Linked DNA regions of Homo sapiens: all the other regions are linked to region 3. Evidence: promoter capture Hi-C in human tissues and cell types (Jung and others, 2019). All regions are on one chromosome and are shown on one strand. The core of a region is centred on a gene start or on the middle of the fragment in contact, and the rest is flanking DNA. Distances in the headings are between cores, read along the strand shown.

Region 1 (4,292 bases), core at 425-2,924, 1.2 Mb before region 3:
TTATGTTTCCCTCTAAGCCCTAGATAATTGGGAAGTGAAAAAGGAAAAAAAATGCAGAATAAATATGTGTATGGGCCTCAGGTATATTTTAGCTCTAGGAGATAAAGTCATATATTTCTGTATGGCTCATACCCTCTATCAAAGGCATGGGTGTCCACAAAATGATTAGTGTTCGGCTCAAGTGAATTGTCTGCAAATATTAAAAATTCTAGTTTGGGCTAAGATTTATGTGTAGCTTAACCCAAACTAGAGTTGTTAATACTTTCAGAAAATAAAACCTCCCCAATGTAGACTATTTCTCCAATAGACATTCATTGGGCACTTGCTACGTGACAGCCCTCTCTCCCACCTGTAGGCAATGGAGTTCTCTGTTGCCTCCTGTGCTTGCCTTGATAAATGAGTTCAAACATTTTTCATTGCAGCTTACAAAAATTCAATCCAAACTAACTGAAGTTAAATTTAATTTCAGTTAAAGTGGACTATTTAATTAAAATACAAAGTCAAGAGGCTGACTAAATTTAGGCCTGACCTCACAGAAATGTTCCTGCAGTGTCTTTGAAATTTGATCTCTGTTTTGCTAGCTCAATTCTTCCTTCACGGATATTGATTTCATTCTTAGGTGGACTCTCCGTGTGTGGTCGAAAGATAGCTCCCTGCAGATCTAGGCTTACATTCTACCACCAGACAACTCTAGAGGGAAGAAACTCTCACTTGCCTATTAGTTCCTATCAAAGTCCCAGAAGTAAATTTAAATATCTTGTTCAGCATACGCACATCCTGAGGACAAAGCTTTGGGGTCAGGCTACCTGAACCAGTGGTGCCAAAAGTAGAGAGGAAAGTCTGATTCTTCAAGCAAGTAAGAGAAAAATAATTGAATGCTTCAAAGACAAAGCCATAGCTGTCCATCCTGTTTCACAACATTGATCACACTAATCACGCTGTATTTCTGTTGTCTATCTCCCTCACTCGACCCAAGCCCAGCAGGTTACATTCATACATCTCTTCATCATTTATTTCTCCAATAGACATTTATTGGGCACTTGCTATGTGACAGGAACTCTACTAAATTCTGAGTAGTGATAAATAAGGTGAACAGTTTCTCTGGCCTCACAGAACTTACGGTCTATTGTGGAGGTAGACATTGAAAAAGGTTGACAAGTCTTATGAAAGAAGAACTATGAAGTCCTAGAGTCCTCTAGTAGACTAGAACAGAGAGATTTATATTACTCTAAGAAGTCAGGCAGGCTTTCCCAAGTAAGAAATAGATATAAGTATAATTATAGCTATAGATCTCAATAGATGTTTCCTAAATAAGAAAATAATTGAATATGTGGGTACTGTCTTATTTTTTAAATTTAATTTAAGTTCTGGGATACATGTGCAGGATGTGCAAGTTTGTTACATAGGTAAACATGTGCCATGGTAATTTGCTACACCTGTCAACCCATCACCTAAGTATTAAGCCCCACACATGTTATCTATTTATCCTGCTACTCTCCCCCCACACCCCAGGGCCTAGTGTGTGTTGTTCCCCTCTTTGTGTCCATGTGGTCTCATTGTTCAGTTCCCACTTATAAATGAGAACATACGATGTTTAGTTTTCTGTTCCTGTGTTAGTTTGCTGAGGATAATGGCTTCCAACTCCATGCATGTCCCTTCAAAGGACATGATCTCGTTCCTTTTTATGGCTGCATAGTATACCATGGTGTATATGTACCACATTTTCTTTATCCAGTCTATCATTGATGGGCATTTGGGTTGATTGCATGTCTTGCTATTGTGAATAGTGCTGCAGTAAATATACACGTGCATGTATCTTTAAAATAGAATGATTTATATTCTTTGGGTATATGCCCAGTAATAAGATTGCTGGCTCAAATGGTATTTCTGGTTCTAGGACTTTGAGGAATTGTCACACTGCCTTCCACAATGGTTAAACTAATTTACATTTGGGGCGCTATTTTAAATGGCTATAATAATGTCTCATGTAAGCTATTTCATTTTGCAAAAGACCTAACATTTGCTCATACACTATGCACAATGCATAGGAAATATGCATATATGTGTGTATATTTATCTACTGTTCATTACATATTTGTTTTGAGTAAGTGTAAAAGATCAATGATACAAGCGTGTACACAGTAGGGAGATTGGGTCCTGATGAGGCTGGAGAACTGAACAGGGACCCCATCATAGGATCATGTGACAAAACTAAAGGTTTGCAATACCAGGAGCCCTTGAAAGATTTTAAGTTAGGGAACACCAGATTTGCCTTTTGGAAAGGTCATTTGGCTACAATGTGGAGAGTAAATTGCTAGGGAAGGTTGGGTATTAGGAGTGGAAACGAGATCATTATCCTCCCAATAGACTCCCCCTGAAAAAATGAACGCATGGCTCTTTTGGCCCTACCATTCTGCATGGATTATAAATGGCTGACATGTTATCTTATTTAGGGATTTCATTTTCTATCACACCTTCACCTGTACTTACTCACTTACTTCAGATAGATAATGTTGAGAAAGGGTCTAGCAATTTTTTTTCAAAGCCACAAGACTAGGAATGCCCAGGTGCCTGACATCGTTTACAGTCCGAGGAGACGCGGGCACTAGACCTGAAACTCACAGTCCTCCTATGTGCAGTCAAGGCAGCTTGAGACAGCAGAACTTGAGGCACTCCTTCTGCCATTGTCTTGATTTGTAATCTTTGTAATTCATGCTCCTGAGTTTTTGTGCTCCCTCCCTTCCATAAAAGTGGGGTACGAATACAATTTTCTGTGCTTTCACTCGGCAGGATAATTGTACTCATTAAATGGGAAAAGGTGTGTGCAAGTGCTTTGTGAATTCATTCATTCTTTTAACAATTTATTAAGTGCCTATTATACATCACAAGCTGAACCACATATTTATAATACACATTCAAATAAGAGAACAAAACAGAAATAAAAGCAATAATTAAATTACAGTGTATCAGTTTTTATAAAAAAAATAAGCAGAGAATGCTCTCATAGATACACACCATCAGGAGAAGCCTTTCGTCCATTTCATATGGGTGTGGGGCATGATCGGAGAAGGATGCCTACAGGAAGGCGTACTCAAGCTTAATTTTCAAAACACTGAATGTTTATTGATATTTTCAATTATTTTTTATTCTGAATTAATATTTAAAAGTACTATTTGTCTTATTAGCTGCATGAAAGAGGACTTTAGAAGAGTCTGTTTAGATTCTTTTAGCATGCAGGTACGGGGAGATTTCCTCAGAGTGGGTCTTCCCACTCCTATGCAGATGGTTCCCAGCGAGAGGGCAAATTCCTTTCCAGAGGGAACCTCGGTGCAGCGGCTGGCACTTCTGATGTACTTGCATAACTGTCAATTTTTACCCCAAATTTGTTTCCTCTGTGTACATGCTATAAATCACCTGGATTTTATTAGGGAGGTCTTGTATTTCTTAACAAGGTAACGTCTTTGGGAGGCAAGTCTGTTTGCCTGGGCCGTGAGCAAATAACATTTAAAACAATGTCCTCCGAGCTGGTACTCTGGTGAGATCAAATGGATTGAAATACAGGACGAAGTTTGTTTTATAAACCAAACCTCATCTTTTATGACTCTCATGCTTGCCTCTGGACTCTGAAAGATTCTAAGCTTGAAATAATCGAAGCAATAAGGGGTATTTTCTACTTGCAAAGGAAAGTTTTAGTTTATTTGCTTATTTTTCCCCCTTTTCCTTTCCTTTTTTCCTTTTTTTTTTATGCCAGAGCTTATAAACATGCAGATAAATAATCGAAGCAATAAGGGGCGGGGGGAGGTGGGGGAGACTCAGGCATGGCGGGCTGCAGGTCCCGAGGAGCCCTGCCCTGCAGGGAGGCAGCTAAGGCCCGGGGAGAAATCGAGCACAGCAGCTGCTGGCCCAGGTGCTAAGCCCCTCACTGCCCGGGGCTTGCAGGCCTGCCGGCTGCTCTAAATGCGGCCCGCCGAGCCCTCGCCCACCCGGAACTCTCGCTGGCCCGCAAGCGCCGCGCGCAGCCCCGGTTCCCACCCTCGTCTCTCCCTCCACACCTCCCCGGAAGCTGAGGGAGCCGGCTCCGGCCTTGGCCAGCCCAGAAAGGGGCTCCCACAGTGCAGCGGCGGGCTGAAGGGCTCCTCAAGCGCGGCCAGAGTGGGCGCCAAGGCCGAGGAGGCGCCGAGAGCGAGCAAGGGCTGCGAGCGCTGCCAGCATGCTGTCACCTCTCAACAACACCATTGACATTTTGTGCAGCTGAAGGCAGCAGGCCAGATGGACAATGTGACTAATGTGGA
Region 2 (4,231 bases), core at 1,402-3,901, 1.3 Mb after region 3:
GCATAGAAGTTAAGGAGAAATCCAGTGAGTTTTGCCACCAGAAGCTAAATGTATTTCCAACACTAAAGAATTGGGTACACCTTGAGTGGAGGTGGCTCACAACCTAAACTGGTGAGTTTTCCCTCCCAGCCTCTACCTTTTCCCCCTCCCTCACTGGCTTAACCTTGTACATTCTAGCAATAAACATGCAAACTGGCAGAAAGACCTACTTCTGGGAAGACAATTCTCACAAGTGAAGGTGGATGGATGTGGCATAGTTCATGAGGCATCAGAAGCCCAACAAGAGTCCAGCTGCCATTGCAGACACTCCCGGCATGGTTGCTGCTGGGATCTCCCATGCCTGGGCAATGGTTAAGGACAAGCTAGTGGTCACTCCTTGCCCGTCCATGTAGCCAGCATCCTGGACTAGGACCCCAGTTCTCCTAGAGAAATCTGGATTTTTAGGTCAGTAATGTACCTACGCCAATAAAGAATCTGTCCCCAAAGTATGGAAACTGCTGCTTCAAGGGCCCATGTTTTCTGAAAAGTTAGAATGGTCCTAGTTTCATCCTCAAAACACAAGTGTTTTGAATTGGACACGAGGCTACGAAGGTTTTCCAGCACAGAAAACCTCACTTTGACCACTGGTTCAAGGTAACTCAACAGGGAACCTTTTCAGCACCTGTTCACTTGTCTGCCACATATGGAAAGGATGTCATTCTGCATTTGACTAGATTCTTGTGGTTTTCATCTTTTGGAGTTCCATGTCACATGACAGTGAACTACCATATATTTGATTTAGCATAGCCATCATGCAACATTATGGTATCTTTGCTAGTAACCACCACTTCTGACATTGAGTGGAGGCTTACCGCCATTCTGGAAAATCCATTCTTTCAAATCCTCCTCATTGAGGTTCCAAGTTCAGTTTGGCTTATTCATGGTAAGGCCAGGAATACACATTGTCTTGTCCTCAGGCGGTATTAACTCTACTGGTCTGTCCTAATGTCATAGGCTGAAGTCTTGGTTTTGCTGGCATCTCACAGGAGATCTCGCTGGGCCACTTTATTATTGGCATAAGTCAGACCCATCAGGAAGCAGCCAGTGCTCTGGAGCATACCCAAGTGCCAGAGGGAGGGGAAAGCCTACCAAGACTCAGGGGTCTATCCACAATGCTTAAGTATCTAGGGCATGCAGGGACATCACTTCCAACTTTCAAATTCAAGGACAGTTCCTTGGATTATCTCCTACCATAAACAGTGTACTTTCAAAATAGGAGTTTGTGAATTTGATACAGCGTATCACACTTAACTACTGTAAGCCATTTTTAGTGGGCTCCAACAGGTATAAGTTTTGAAGAGGCCTCATCAGATGAGGGCCCTGCAGCTAATCTTGGCCTTCTAAAATGTTGCCTTGCCTCTCATATTAGATCCATGGTAGGAGGTGGTCATGGGAGGCATCTGGGGGATACTTTAGTAAAAATACTACAGACCATTAAGATTCTAGCCTAAGTCTGCCAGTAGAAGGCTGATTACCCTTCAGGTCAGCTTCAACCATGTTACTGAGCCTTGGAGACTGAGCTCTTGGCCATGAGACAGCTAGTAACTTTTAGAACTTCCTAGCCTGATCTGGGTGTTGTGAGACCCATAGAGGCAGAAGCTCCATGGGCACAACAAGGTTGTGAGGGAAATAAACATAGAACTACATTTAAATCACAAAACTAGGTGGCTCAGACTCCCATCATCCTCAAGCTCTGTAGTACCTGCATCTGTCAGCTCATACCTGTAGCCTCAAGGGGAGATCTCTATGACCAACTGGCAAAGGGTAAAGTTCTGGTTTATGGATGATTGACTCAATATGTGATAGCCGAGTATAAACTGTTGTGACACTAAAGCTTCTCTGAGGGCACCCTAAGTCGTCATTGGGGAAAAAATCCTCTCATTTGGCAGAAGTTCAATCAATAAACTTGATCATCTCTTACGGGATAAGGGATTTGAGGATAATTGGTCCCATATATTGGAAAATGGACTGACTGGTCAGACCCCGGAAGATGATTACATAGAAGAGATCTGGAACACTCATATGTGGAGGGGCCTATGGGAATGGTCCAATTCAGACTCTTGAGCAGTAAGAAGCCCATGCCAAGACACGCACAGTGAAGACATAAGGGTATGGACCTGCCAATTGCATCCCAAGACTCGGTGGTGAAGAGGATTCTTCAACGTGGAAAGGAGAACAATTAAATCCCAGGCCCTAGGGGCTACCTTGAAGGGATTTTTTCTGGGAGAGTTCACCTCTGTGAAGGCATTGCTCAGCTTCAGATTGTCTGTTCTCCAACCTTTCAAAGATCATGGAGAAAACACACAGGCATCTAGTACTCCACACATGAAGGTGCCATGAGAGAACTACCCCCAAGACAGCTGATGGTTTCTTGAAACCTAGTTAGGTATTCAAGTGGTCAATTCTGCTTTCCAGGGAGAAGTGTCTAGATGTTGATCACAGCCCTTCAGGGGTTGAAGGGAATTGCTATGGGCACCTAGCAGAAAAGGTAAATTGTGCTGCTTAAAGTCCTACAGTGCACAGGACAGCCCCCAATGAAAAATTACACAGGAGCATCCAATTAAAAGTTTCTGATCTAGTTGATAGGTGGATATCAGATATACATGTAATTTGAGGACTTTGGAGGATTCTGGGAGCATAGGTAGTGTGTTAAGTATTTCAGATTCAGGTTGAAGCATGCAGATGCCTCACTATGACTGTTGAAGCTTGTTTTCTGGAGCTGAGAACTGGTCCACCTTCTACCTGTTCCCTAACACCTGGCCCTTTTGCTACGCATTTACCTTAGTGTCTATATACAGACCTTTATAAGCAACAATGAGTTTGGGTGTTAACATCTCCTACTATGGACACTGGTACAGTGATCACATAGGGACATCTTGCAAGCTGTGATTGGAGGACCAACCTTCCCATCACTTTCCACTGGGGCCAGACCTCAAGTGTTGGGTCCTGGATGACTCAGATCCAGGATCTAAAGTAGTATGACTTGGGTGAGGAATGCTTCCCACATCCAGTGGAAATTCAGGTGCCCCCTCTGAGAATGCACCTCATTTTAGTCAGGGGAGCAGCCTTCCTCTATCTTAAGTCTCCCCTGCACACAAGGCAGTATGAACAACACAACCACTGCAGAAAGTTCCAAGGCCTTTTCTGGCAGTGTCAGTGCGCAGTGAAAGAACTAGACTTGAGCCACACATTTCATGAAACAGGGTAAACTACCAAAGGTCTACTAGGTGCAGAGACTGGGGTCCATCCATCTCCCTCATGTTCACCAAGGCTGTCAGTTCAGTGCGTATCCCAGCAGAAAACGATCCTACGTGCATCACTCAGACACAGTGGTATACGGAAACGTGTGTTTCAGTCTGGTTTTGGATGAGATGGATCTCTGGCTACATTATAGCCCAAGCTCTAAGGGCCAAGAATTCAGACTTAAAGGTTCCATTCTGATGGCTATGTCATTGTATCTTCCGATACCCTCTAACCAGATTCTTCATACCAATGATTCCTGAGGCCTTATGACAGCCGAGAAGTTTATGAATGATTTCAAAACATTGAGTGAAAGAACAAACTGGAAGTTTTACTTATAACAGATAGCCAAGTGGGCAATCCAAGGTCACAGTTGTCTGAAAAGCCGAGTAAGACATTGACATGGATCAAAGTTGTCTAGGATCCTCAGAGCAGAGGAAGGTACAAAGGGTAGCTCAGGCACTATTGTACCTCCTGCCCCAATGCTTGCTTGCCCCAGAAGACACCCCAGAGCCCAGAGGTTCCCATCACATGCTTCTCAGCAAAAGATGACTCTTGGGACCCAGCCACCTGGTGATGGCGCATCACCTTCAAGTGTGCTTCTAGCATTGTATGATTAGCTCTGCAGCTCAACATGGCTGGGATCCATGAGCTCAGCCACTGAGCTGAGGTCAGGCCTAAGTCTTAGTCCCTGAAGGGCCTTAAGTGTGGAGAGGTTATGATACCAGTTCTTTATTTTTAATACAGGAAAAGCTGTACAAATTCTTCCATTAAGGGACATGACATAAAGGCATAAGGGAACCAAAGAAGCCAATAACATACTAATTCCCTCCAAGTATTTCACAAGCACAGACGCACCTCTGGGTCTATAGTAACTGACACTAACCAGCTGTGGCTATGACACCTGTCAGCCATAAGGTCTCACACCACATTACCCATCTCAGACGAGATT
Region 3 (4,230 bases), core at 617-3,116:
ATCTCTGGGCTGGAGACCTGGGGTTCCAGTTTCTTTCAAGGTCTTGTGGTAGGGAACTAAGTGGGTGAGTAACCTGCCTTTGGCTTCCAGGGTGCAAACAGAATCATTGCTAACCCCCTTTGTGTCTCACAATGGGTAATGAAATTCATACTATGGCACCAAAGCACTTTGAGCTCTTTAGAAAAAGTAATCATACCAACTTAGAGCATTAAAACCACCCCGTATTTTGAAGGACTCATGATCTGCACTGTGCTTGGCTGCTGGTGGAAGCTTAAAGACACCAGTAATTGGCAGAACTTTATCTTAGACTTCCATTTGACCCTCACAACCTCACACATGATTTTACACAGCTTCCTATAATGGGGGAGAAAAGCCCTTCTTTTAAATCTAATGTTAGTTTAAATGCTAAGGCTTTCAAAGTGGGCCTTTAAAGTCACTTTTTAGAATTTGTATTTTTTTTTAACCTAAAATAGACATGCCAACATTATTCTGACTAAAAGAAGTAGACAAGGTCATTCAACTCCTAAAAGCTTATTTTCCAAAAGCACAGTTAGGTCTCAGCTTTCAGGGTGCTTCTGGCTGTATCAAAAAGACAGAATATACTGGTCACTGTGTTGTTTTCTGAAAGTGCCGAGGGTAATCTGTGTATGAGTTAAAGGGCCAATTTCCTATAGGAACCTTCTCTTAGATGGGATTTTTTTTTAATTAAACAATGTTGGTGAAATATATTTAAACGTAAATCACAAATTCGAAGTCTTCCAAATATTTATTTACTAATGTGGAAGACATGGAAACTACAGTAATCTCATTTAAAGGAAGTTACTTTGATGTGCATTTGCTTTTGGCGGGGTATGATTGCTGACCTGCCTTTGAGGGCAACTTCCTTTGGCTCAGGTAAGCAGGCAAACCCGTTTCTCCAAGGCGATTCCAACCCCACGCCCCTCAAAACCTTAAATCTTAAATTGAGTTATTGGGTGCAGGTCCTTTCTCCCACAGAACCTCCCAGCTTCCGGAATAGAGGAGCGGGGCAGAAATATCCTGCTTTTTATTTCAGAGCTGACGTTTGCAATCCTAGTGCACTAGCGGAAAAAAAAAAAAAAAAAAAAAAAAAAAAAAGCTGAATTTTCCGCGCTCTCCTGGCAAATTGGCGTCCGCTCTCCGACGCTAAACCAAAGGAAAAGGAGTGTTCAATGGCGACAGGGCGCTCTTTGAAGCCGGCTCCTCACGCGGATTCTGGCCCAGGCCGCCGCTCCGGTCCCAGTCCGGCTGCAGAGCGAATTGGAGAGGATGGCACCTCCTGCTTCCCGGGGGGCGGAAGGAGCGCCAGCGCCTAAGGTGGGTCACCTGCCAGGAAGGGAATACGCATGGTGCAGACTCACGTGGGAGGAGCACAGGTCCCGGGTACAAGTGCCGAGCTGGCGACTTAGAGAAGAGGTAGACTCGGGCTCAGACCAAGCAGGCGTAAGGGAGTAGACGGGACGTCCCGTGTTTGCAGTGACGGCGGAGTCACCCATCCCAGCAGCCTCACCTTCTTGGAGCGCTGGTCCCTCCCCTTGGACTGAAACCCCAGGGGCCACCGCACCGGGTGGGCGGGACCGACTACTACCCGACCAGCCGCTGGAGCTGCGTGCCAGGCGGGGCTGTGCGGAGCAGCTGAGCGCAGAGCGGAGCACCAGGCACCTAGCGGGCCGGACTCTGGGCGGCACCCGAGCGGGCCGGGCAGCAGTGGGCGCTCGCGATCCTCCTCTGCCCAACGCGCTCTCCCTCCGGGCCCGGCCTCCTCCGTCCCCTCCTTTTGCTCCCGCTCCTCCTCCCGCTCCTCCCCCTCCTCGGGATTGAGCACCAAAACGCCCGCCTGCAAGGTCCTCTGCGCCCTGGCAGCCAGGAGTCGCCGCCACGACAGCCGGGTCTCAGTGGGTGCCTGCGCCTTCTCCCCGCCCGCCTGCCCCGGGCCATCCAGAAACTTGCTCTACCCGCCGCGGGTGCTCGGCAGTGCTGCCCATGGCCCAGCCTAGGAGCCTATTTAGGGCGCCGGACGGGCTGGACAGAGGCGCGGCTCAGGTGAGTGCGGCGCGCGCGGGGTGGGAGAGTGGCAGGACGCAGGTGTAGAGGGCTCCGAGGTGCCTTTGTCTGGCGTTCTGGACTTCGGGCAAGTGCAGAACCTAAGAAGAATCGAGGCTGGAGCAGGTGGAGTGGATGCAGAGGGAACCAGGAAGCAAAGGCTGGGGATTTTCCCATCCTCCTCACCTCCTGCCCTAGCACCTCTGCTCTGGAAGTCCCGAGGGACCGGTTGATCTGTAAGGACAGGGACCCAGATTTCTGACTCTTACTGGGTTGGATGTTTTCCCCCCCTGCAGAGTCGTGAGGTTCGCTCCTGCCGGCCGCTTCGCGACCGCAGCTTCACCATAGGACCCTGTAGGGCAGCGAGAGCGCAGCACTCAACGGATCCTGGGTACCACCTGGGGCCAGAAACTGGGGCGAGGACACAGCCCGCAAAAGTAACTCGGCTGAGGGAGCCTTTGGGGGTGGAGAAGCCTTGGTCGGGTTTGCCTTTGCATTTGGTTGGAGATAGGCATCTCCCAAAGAGAGAGATTGAGGTGACAGCCCTGACAATAAACCTCTCATCCCTAATGCCAATTACATGAGGGTCTTGATTTTTTTCTTGTTACTTTTTACTGATTTTTTTCCCCCTTCGTGGTTTTCTATTTCCGGGCCCTTGGGTAGTGGCAGCGGATGGAGGTGAGGGATGGCGGGGTGCGAACCCGCGGTTGGAACGCCTAGACCCCAGCTCCCAGGAAGGGTCTTATTCGCGGAGCTTGACCTCTCCAGGTGCGCTCTACCAGCCAGGGGGCGGACGGCGCGCTGCTCCTCCTTCTAGCCCCAGCCTGTCCCAGGAAGCGGAGGACAGACCCAGAACGTAGGCGGATGATGGGAAGAAGAAGCTGGAGCCAAAGCCGGGTGCCGGCGCGGGATGGGGTGTGCTGGGCTCTGCAGTTATAGGTCTATAACTCTGCAGTTATAGGCGCTATAGGTCTTCCATCTCTTTCCCTCCCCTGGGAGCCAGCGATTCCTCGCACACTCAGGGCGCTCTCTTGGGCCAAGGGTTGCATCCTCCCTCTTCCTCCTCCTTTGCAGATCCAGTGGTACCCTTGCCTCGCCTTGCGCGAGTCTCGCTCCTCCCTTTCCCACAATGTTATCATGAGCTATTTTTATCTACAACTTGTGCCAAGATGCTTTTGGGGGGATTCTAGGGAGGCCACTCCAAATCCACTGTCTTTGCGCTGCGCTCCGAGAAACAGTCTCCTGTTAGCATGGAGCAGCCTCAAGGAGTGGCGGGGAGGGTGGCCGAGAACGGAAGGAGCCAGTCCGCCCTCTTCTCCTCCCTCAGCCCTAGCCCCGGAGGGAAACCCCGCCACCACCAGCTCGGCTGCGCCTCCCGCCAGTAGCCCCGGAAGAGGGTCCCCAGACGAGTCCCCACGCTCCCGCTTTCAGGCGCTGGGTGCTTGGACACTGCTGAGGCAGCAGCCTGGCACAGGCAGGATCCTTCATTCCCACCCGTGCGTTCTCGCTTTGCAGGCAAATCTCATTTTATTTTGTTGAAATGCTTCCACCCAAGGGTTAATTCCAGGAATTCCATCTTTAAAAAAAAAAGAAAAAAAAAGGAGGGAGAAATAACCCAACTTCTGCCTCCCTGCATTTCTAAAGCAAAGCGCATCCTTTGACGTTCGGATTTTTTTCTTGCTTTCTGCATTCCTGGTAATATTGGGTAACACTGGGTGCAATTAGAATAAGCCTTACCTACTGAAATTCCAGGAGACGCGCGCTCCGCTGCAAATCCCTGCCTTACCCTTCCCGTTGTACATCCAGCGCTTAGATTTTCCCCCACAGGATTGCAGAAATAACATATTGAAATGGACCATTGTGTTACATAAGGTTTTCTCCAGCGCTAAGCAGAGAAAGAACAGCTTCTAAAAGAGTCTTTCCAGGTTTTGGTTAGCCCATCTAACTCTTTCAGCTGAGTTTGACAGGGATGGACAACTTCATGACTAAGCACTCTTAAGTGGAAGCAGTTAATTACAACAGCAGCATAGATGAAGATTCCTTAGTGAGGCTTATTAAGCTGTGCTTCTAGACTGTGGATCCTCTGTGATGCCACAGGGTATACAATGCTCTGTAGTTTTAAGATAGGAGATTTTTGTTCTGAGAAGCTGGTGAGAAATTGGCATCTTG

What was found. Contacts are between HindIII fragments. The study calls those that stand out against the background at their distance.
Region 1: a fragment that was not itself captured here is called in contact with the fragment with the promoter of HS3ST1 in region 3 in 1 of the 25 tissues and cell types used here (dorsolateral prefrontal cortex).
Region 2: a contact is called between a fragment that was not itself captured here and the fragment with the promoter of HS3ST1 in region 3, in 1 of the 25 tissues and cell types used here (neural progenitor cells).

Annotation. Positions count from the first base shown.
Region 1 is chr4:12,609,386-12,613,677 of GRCh38, reverse strand. The region is part of intron 1 of LOC105374492 (a long non-coding RNA gene); the gene reads left to right. Among named protein-coding and RNA genes, the nearest start is that of LINC02270, 390 kb to the right of the region's middle. RefSeq lists enhancers at 3,471-3,985, 3,986-4,292. The HindIII fragment of the contact is 3,387 bases long and covers 1-3,367 here.
Region 2 is chr4:10,175,125-10,179,355 of GRCh38, reverse strand. No RefSeq gene overlaps it. Among named protein-coding and RNA genes, the nearest start is that of WDR1, 60 kb to the right of the region's middle. The HindIII fragment of the contact is 3,621 bases long and covers 841-4,231 here.
Region 3 is chr4:11,426,530-11,430,759 of GRCh38, reverse strand. It overlaps HS3ST1 (heparan sulfate-glucosamine 3-sulfotransferase 1), which reads left to right and starts at 1,866. Exons shown (of 2, transcript NM_005114.4): 1 at 1,866-2,061. RefSeq lists a silencer at 1,721-1,900 and an enhancer at 1,991-2,210. The HindIII fragment of the contact is 7,575 bases long and covers 1-4,230 here.